Linked DNA regions of Homo sapiens: region 2 is linked to region 1. The links are contacts of gene promoters, found by promoter capture Hi-C in blood cells and fetal thymus (Javierre and others, 2016). All regions are on one chromosome and are shown on one strand. Each heading gives the region's core, a stretch centred on a gene start or on the middle of the fragment in contact. The rest is flanking DNA. Distances are from core to core; before and after follow the strand shown. Region 1 holds the start of NNAT (neuronatin). Region 2 overlaps MANBAL (mannosidase beta like).

Region 1 (3,678 bases), core at 634-3,133:
TTGATTTCCATGGTGGGGCCTGCTGGCATGGCCCTGGCTTCGGGGCTGGGATGGTGCTGTCCCGACTTTGTCCAGATCAGAATGCGGTGCCTATGCCCAGATCTCAGGGGTCTGCTCCCCCTATCCCCCCTCCTCTCTCGACCCTGCCCCTTAGTGGGACCGGTGCAAAGGGGTTGGGAAGGGATCTGGTATCTTCGTCATTGTCGGTACTGCTTCTCCGGGGGTCTACTGGCCCCTCACTGACCTTGCCAAGTGCTCCTCTGGCGAGGGAACACAGGGGACCCCACATTCCTGCGCGGCACTGGCTCCCGTGCTGGCCGAGATGCACAGGAGCACCTGATGATACGGCCGCCCAGGGCTGGGAGCTGGGGCCTCAGTTGGGGGCTCGCTGCCTGCGCTCCCCCAACACCTGCCGCCCGGTCCGCGACACCGTGTATGCCAGCTTCTGCAGGGAGTACCTGAACACCTGCGACGAGAAACCCAGGACCCACCCTTAGTGGAGAGCACCCACAGCATGTCTGTGGTGCTGCCGTGCCCACCCCCGCCCCACCCCCTGCCCCGCCCGCCCATCCAGCGTAGGCTGGAGAGGCGGGCGCGGGCGCAGCTTGTCCACGAGTCAGGGCAGCTGGAGCTTTTCCAACTGTGCTGAGAGCTGCATGGCGGCAAGCTGATTGGACCCACAACTTAGGTATACCTCACTTCTCGCAATGGGCTGTGTCCCTGGAGGATTTCGAAAAGCGAATCCTACCCAGTAAATGCAGCATTCCAGGAACACCTTGAAGGAAATATGCGATTCCTTTGGCAAAGGATTCCTTTAGCAGGGAATTCTTCCTGCAAAGGGAGCTTTTAGGGTAAATGATTTTATGGGCAAAGCGCTTTCTTCTGATTTATCTCTTTTTACACCAAGCGCTTTTGCCTCTTTTTTATTTTTTTTATTATTATTTTTTTTTTTGTAAAGCAATTGTCCTTTTTTGGAAGTGCTTTTTTTCCCCTTCTATTTTTCTCTCGAGGGGCTTTTTCCTCTAATTTTTTTCTTTAAAGCGTTTTTGCCCGATCCATTTTTTTCCGTTAGCTCCCTTGTCTAATTTTTTTCTGCAGTGCGTTTTTAATCTAATGCATTTTTTTCTGCCAAGTGCTTTTCTCCGATTTATTTTTCCTGCAATGCGCGTTTTTCTGTTTTCCTGTGAACTACTTTTTCTCTAATTCGTTGTAGGGTTTTTTTTTTTTGCGAAGTAATTTTTATTTTTTCTGAGAAGTGCCTTTTTCTAACTTATTTTTTGTTCCACCCCCGCAAGCGCTATATGTTTTTTTAAATAAAATTTCTCCGCAATGCGCAATTTTTTAAGGTGGAAAATTTTCACTCTGCGAGCTGTAAAGTCTTTCAACACAGTAGTGCCCCGCCTCCCTCCTGGGGTCGAGTCCGGGTGTAGCGGGTTTTTCTTACCGCGTAGGTCGCTAAATGCCTGGGTGATCGTCCGCAGCGGTCGCCCGCCGCGCCCCGAGTCTTTGTTCCCTGGCAGGCGCGGGCGCACTAGGGAGGGTCAGCGCGAGGAGGACGGCGCAGGGAATGGGCAGGGGGCGCGCGGTGCCGGCAGCGGCACTTGGGCAGGCAAGGATCGCGGCAATCGGAATAGGACGGGTCCGGGAAGCGGCAATCGCGACGCAGTCTTGCGGGTTCTAGGGGCGCGAGTTGGGAACCCTCTCCCACCCGAAACCCCGTCAGACTTACCTGCAGCAGCACGCGGAAGATGTACCAGCCGATGATGAGCAGTTCAGCCGAGGCCGCCGCCACTGCCGCCATGGTTCCAAGAATGGTAGGTGGGTGGTCGAGAAAGAGGGTTTGCCGAGATCCGCTGGTCTCGGAGTCCGCTGTTGGGCGCACTGCCGCAGCCGCGGTGGCCGCGCCTTAAGTACCCGCCCGCCACCTAAGTGCGCATGCGCGCCTTGGGGGGTGTTTATGAGGAGGGGTGGCTGGGGGCGCTCCTCATTCGCCAGGAGAGGAAAAAAATAATCCATCTGCTCTTTCCATACCGACCCCCGCCTCCTGAGTTCCATCTTAGCCCCCTTCCAGAAGATTCCGCCGTGCTTGCTTTTGGATTTTGCTTTAAAATGGAGGGGTACCACGACTCTGGGTAGAGTACAGGGCGAGAATGGGGGTGCAGGTCTCTTAGTGTGGCGCCCTTCTCCCCAGTCCCTGGCCTGCAAATTTGAGCTCAGTCTCCGGTGCCACTCCAAAGCCTACCTTGGGGATGGATGGAAAACCGAAATTAGGGAGGGGTCATCTGCCCCATAGAGCAAAAAACGTGGTGCCCCTTTCAGAAGCTTTGGCATAATAGGCCCGTGCTCGGCGCTCTTTTCCTGATACTGAATGAGTTTTAAGCCCAGGTCCTCTGCTTCATGAGGGTGCCTGAGCGCGTAACCCGTCTGATTCTTTACATCTCTCTTACGGTAGCGAGGAGATGAGAATCTGCGGTGGAGGTCGCTACTGTAGGGAGCTGAGCCAGAGCACTGCGCTTTGGGCGCAAAAGCAGTAGTCACCCGGTATCTGTAGGAGGGATACAGGAAGGATTGGCGCCCTTCGTATGCACGGAAGGAATGAGCTCTACGGAGAAGTGGTTGGAATATGCTTGGGGATAGTTTTCTGCTGGACAGGTCGTTTCGACCTCAGTCTTCCGCTCCCCTCCCCCAAGCCCTGGTAGGTCGGCCTTAGCCAGTGGGGTTCTTTGTACCCGTTGCGCTGTGCGGCTGGATCACCGAACGGGGTTACGCTACCGCTACCGGAGGGTTGTGGCTACCGCAGCCCCGTTTCCAAGTGAGGCGGGTCCCTTTTAGACCGCCAGTCTTGTGGGTCCCTCGCACAGCGCGGATTTTCGGGCGGGAAGACCGGAATGCGGTTTGTGAGTGTGGTCCCCGCGCACCGGTAGCCAGCCGAAAGCACCTCTTTCCAGCAAGCTGCCTGGCCCAGGGACCAACTGGCATTTGCCCCTATGTGGATAGAAAATTAATTTTCATTAAAAGCTCCCAGAGGTCAGGTTCTATACAGTGCCAGCAGCAGATGGAGGTGTAATGATCCAAACGAGTTCAGTTTGGACAAAGTAGCATAGTGACTTTTTTTCTACATTGACTTTCGGAGAAGTTGGCAGATTCTGGCAAAGTGACGCTGGGCTGTTTGAAAAAGGCAAGCTTAGCCTAGGCTGCCATCTTAAAATATTTCGAGGCTGTAGCTGCCTCAGGATCCTTTGCCTGTGGTCTGGTGGCCGGCAGTGCCCCGCTAACAGCTTTAACTCTGCACTTAGTGCCTGAGCACCTATGGCTGTGAGAGATGCTAGATACAGAACCCTGTCCTTACCACGTGGGGGCACAGCAGGGAGCCCTTGGTCGTCCTTTGGCAACCACTGGGCGGTATTGTGAGGTCTGGGCCCCTTGAGGACGGGCTGCAGCCCCAGGAGGCGATACATGATCTCTGCTGGGCAGGGCCCAGGCAAAGCCAGCCCACTGTGTGAAACCGTGCCAAAGAGCCCTCTCCCCGATCCCCCAGGAGAAGCCCCGGGGAGACATCCCAGGAAGCTTCCCGAATTAGTGACTTGGAGAGGAGTAGAACTTTCACGGGTGGGCAGGGAGGAAAGGGCATTTCACATTTGCTGTTGTTAACCATGATCCATTTTCCCAAATAAGTAT
Region 2 (3,678 bases), core at 713-3,212, 220 kb after region 1:
CCCTCTGGCCCCTGCCCACACCTCTGGCTGCACCACTCATCATGCCCCCTCTGTGCTCTGGCCACAGTCACCTTCATTCAGTTCCTTGAATTAGCCCCTTCCTTTATTGAGTCCCTTGCACGTGCAGTGCCCTCTCCCTGGAATGTTGTCCTCGCCCCTTGCCCACTTTCACCTGGCAGAAGCCTGCTCATTCCTTCAGTCTCAGCTCAAACACTGCCTCCTCGGCAGGGCCCACAGCCCAGGGTAAGATCAGGTCTCTCTCCCCCTTGTTATATAGCCTCACTGGACTCTGTACTTCTCATGGGAGCACATGGAGGTATGTTTTTGTTATCTGCCTTCCTCCCAAGGACTAGATGCTCCTCAGGTGCAGACACTACATCTTCAGCAGAGTCTGAAATGTAGTAGGCACTAAATAAAAATCTCCTTAATGGGTACATGAACAAATAAAGTATTAGCTATGTGGTTCAACCCACCAGGTGGAAATTCAGAGGCACACTAAATCAAAAAGGCCCAATGTAGACCCTGCTGATCTCAGTTGTGGTGGCACCTACTGTTAGTACTCAGAACCCAGCCTGGCACTCAGAGGAGCTGAGGCTCCCAGGGAAAAACTCACCGCCTCGTGGGACTTGGGAATGGGTACGATGATGGCCAGCACACAGATGAGCTGGAAGATGGCTCCCAGGAAGAGTCCGTACCGTAGCAGGTTCTCCAGGAAAGTGGGCTCGGGCACCTCCGGAGGTGAGAAGTCTAGGTCAGAGGCCATGGCCCAAGTCGCTTGCTGCCTGACGTCTCTTCTGACTCACCACTCTTTAGAACCAACTTGTAAATGCAAAGGGTCAGTGTCATATTTCTGTAACTGACATTTATTTATTTATTTATTTATTTATTTATGAGATGGAGTCTCACTCTGTCGCCCAGGCTGGAGTGCAATGGCATGATCACTGCAACTTCGGCCTCCTGGGTTCAAGTGATTCTCTTGCCTTGGCCTCCCGAGTAGCTGGGATTACAGGTGTGGGCCAACACACCTGGATGATTTTTGTATTTTTAGTAGAGACAGGGTTTCACCACGTTGGCCACGCTGGTCTTGAACTCCTGACCTCAGGTGATCTGCCCGCCTCAGCCTCCCAAAGTGCTGGGATTGCAGGTGTGAGCCACCTCACCCAGCCTGTAACTGACTTTTAACTTGAACACACACACACACACCCAAGAATATATACAGGAATTGTGAAATGTTAACAACTCTTGAATCTAAGTTGGGAACATATGGTCAGTCAATGAACCATTCTTTCAACTTTTCTGTGTATCTGATGTTTTCCAAACATAAAGTTGAGAAAAATAAATAAATGCAAAGGGAAGCACTTCAACAAAAATCTCAAATCAACATACATTTACTAAAGGCTGCTACGTTTCAGGTTTTGTTGTTTATTTATTCATGTAGTCATCCATTCAACAAATATTTCTTGAATACCAAGCACTGAAGAATGAGCAAAACAGACAAACCCCTGCTTTCTTGGAGCCTCTACATGCTCAGGATGGAAGCAGACAATGAACACGTCGAGATGTGATATGCCAGGTAGTGATAAGCATTTTGGAAAAAACTTAAGGGCATCATTTTATTTTGTGATGAGAAGGCTCTCTCTGAAGAACAGAGACGGGAATGGAGTGGAAGAGATAAGAAGTGAGAGAGGGAGCCATTTGTGTATCTGAGGGAAACACGTTCCAGGCAGGGAAAAAAGCAAGTGTGGAGGCCCCAGGGTGGGGAAATGAGGCCAGTACAGGCAGAGAAGTGATCAGGAGGGAGGGTGGAAGGAGGTATGATCAGAGAGGAGTGGGGGCGGACCCTGATACCTCCAATTTGATTGAGTAAAATGTAAAGCCACTGAAGGGTTTTGAGCAGAAAAGTGACATGATCTGACTTCCATTTTTAAATGGAGGAGGGACAACAAGGGGAGAGGCAAAGTGGACACAGGGAGAGCCAGGAGGAGGCCCCTGCCAATAAGCCAGACAAGAGCTGCTGATGGCGTGAATGACAGGGGCAGTGGTGGCCAGTGGTGCAAGGTCCAGCCTCAGCCCAGCTCTCCAGCCTCTCCTCTCAGCAGGGCCCCCACTCCTAATATCCTAGTCAAGCTGAAAGAACTGCTGTGGTTCTCCAAGAGCACTGGGCTCTTTCAAAATCCTGGGCCTCTGCCCAAGCTGCATACTCTGCAAAGAATGTCCTTTCCCACTGTGACTGCTTGACAAAGCCCCCACTCTGCCTCTAAGGCTGAGCTCAAGTGTCATCTCCCCAACATGCCTCTCCTGTCACCCTCCTCTTCCCCTGGCATGACTGAACTGCTCCCCCTTTACCACAGCACCCATCAGTGGCTTTCTTCTGCCCATCCCAATGATAAAGGGGCAAATTTACTTTGGAACCAGGCCCACTTGAATCTAAAACCCTTTGTGTTTCCAGAGATCTGTGCCACAATGCAATATTTTGCTAAGTCTGAGCTATCCAATATGGTGGCCATGAGCCACACATGACTATTAAGACTTGAAACGCAGCTAGTTTGAATTGAGATGCTAATTACACACCCATTTTCAAAGACCTAGTATGAAAATAAGAATGTAATCTATCTCATTCATAATGTTTTCATATTGATTACATGCTGAAACGATTGCAGTGGCTCACGCCTATAATCTCAGCACTTTGGGAGGCCACGGTGGGCAGATCACTTGAGCTCAGGAGTTTGAGACCAGCCTGGACAACACAGCGAGACCCCATCTCTACAAAAAAAATAATAAATTAGGCAGGAGTGGTGGCTCACTCCTGTATTCCCAGCTACTCGAGAGGCTGAGGTGGGAGGATCACTTGAGCCCAGGAGCTTAAGGCAGTGAGCCACGATCACGCCACTGCACTCCAGCCTGGGTGACAGAGCGAGACCCTGCCCCCACCCGACCCTGCCCCCACCCCACCCTGCCACCAAAAAATACACGTAAAAAATAATTGGCTGGGCATGGTGGGTTACGCCCAAAGTGTAAGCCCAACACTTTGACAGGCCAAGGCAGAAGCATCACTTGAACCCAGGAGTTTGAAACCAGCCTGGGCAACAGAGTGGGACCCTGTTGCTATAAAAAATTTAAAAATTAGCCGGACATGGTGGTACACACCTGTAGTCCCAGCTACTCAGAAGGCTGAGGCAGGAGAATTGCTCCAGCTGGGAGGTCTAGGCTGCAGTGAGCCAATGAGTCGTGATTGCGCCACCCTGAGTGACGGGGTGAGAGATCCTGTTTAAAAAAAAAAAAAAATTGAATTGAAAGCAAGGACTCAAGATACTAATGTTCATAGCAGCATTATTCACAATAGCCAAAAGATGGAAACAACTAAGAGTCCATAAACAGATGAATGGATAAGCAAAACGTAGTATATACATACAATGGAGTATTACTCAGCCATAAAGGAAATGAAATTCTGATACATGCTACAACATGAATGAACCTTGAAAACATTATGAGCTTTGAATAAATATATATGAAATAAGCTAGACACAAAAGGACAAATATTGTATGAGTCCCCTTATATGAGGTACCTGGAATAGGCAAATTCAGAGACAGAAAGTAGAATTGAGGTTACCAAGGGCTGGAGGGAAGGGAAATGGGGAGATATTGTTTACTGGGTACAGAGTTTCAGTTTGCAAAGAT

The links. Contacts are between HindIII fragments. The CHiCAGO score rates a contact against its expected background, and 5 or more counts as called.
Region 2: a contact is called between a fragment that was not itself captured here and the fragment with the promoter of NNAT in region 1, in 1 of 17 cell types (naive CD8 T cells). The highest score is 6.4, in naive CD8 T cells.

The regions. Positions count from the first base shown.
Region 1 is chr20:37,519,455-37,523,132 of GRCh38, reverse strand. It overlaps NNAT (neuronatin), which reads right to left and starts at 1,883. Exons shown (of 3, transcript NM_005386.4): 1 at 1,730-1,883; 2 at 695-775; 3 at 1-466. The coding sequence starts at 1,801. The coding sequence ends at 374. The region is part of intron 1 of BLCAP (BLCAP apoptosis inducing factor); the gene reads left to right. RefSeq lists enhancers at 2,811-3,674, 3,675-3,678. The HindIII fragment of the contact is 15,256 bases long and covers 1-2,324 here.
Region 2 is chr20:37,298,349-37,302,026 of GRCh38, reverse strand. It overlaps MANBAL (mannosidase beta like), which reads right to left. Exons shown (of 3, transcript NM_001003897.2): 2 at 614-819. The coding sequence starts at 763. Among named protein-coding and RNA genes, the nearest start is that of MANBAL, 11 kb to the right of the region's middle. The HindIII fragment of the contact is 5,291 bases long and covers 1-3,678 here.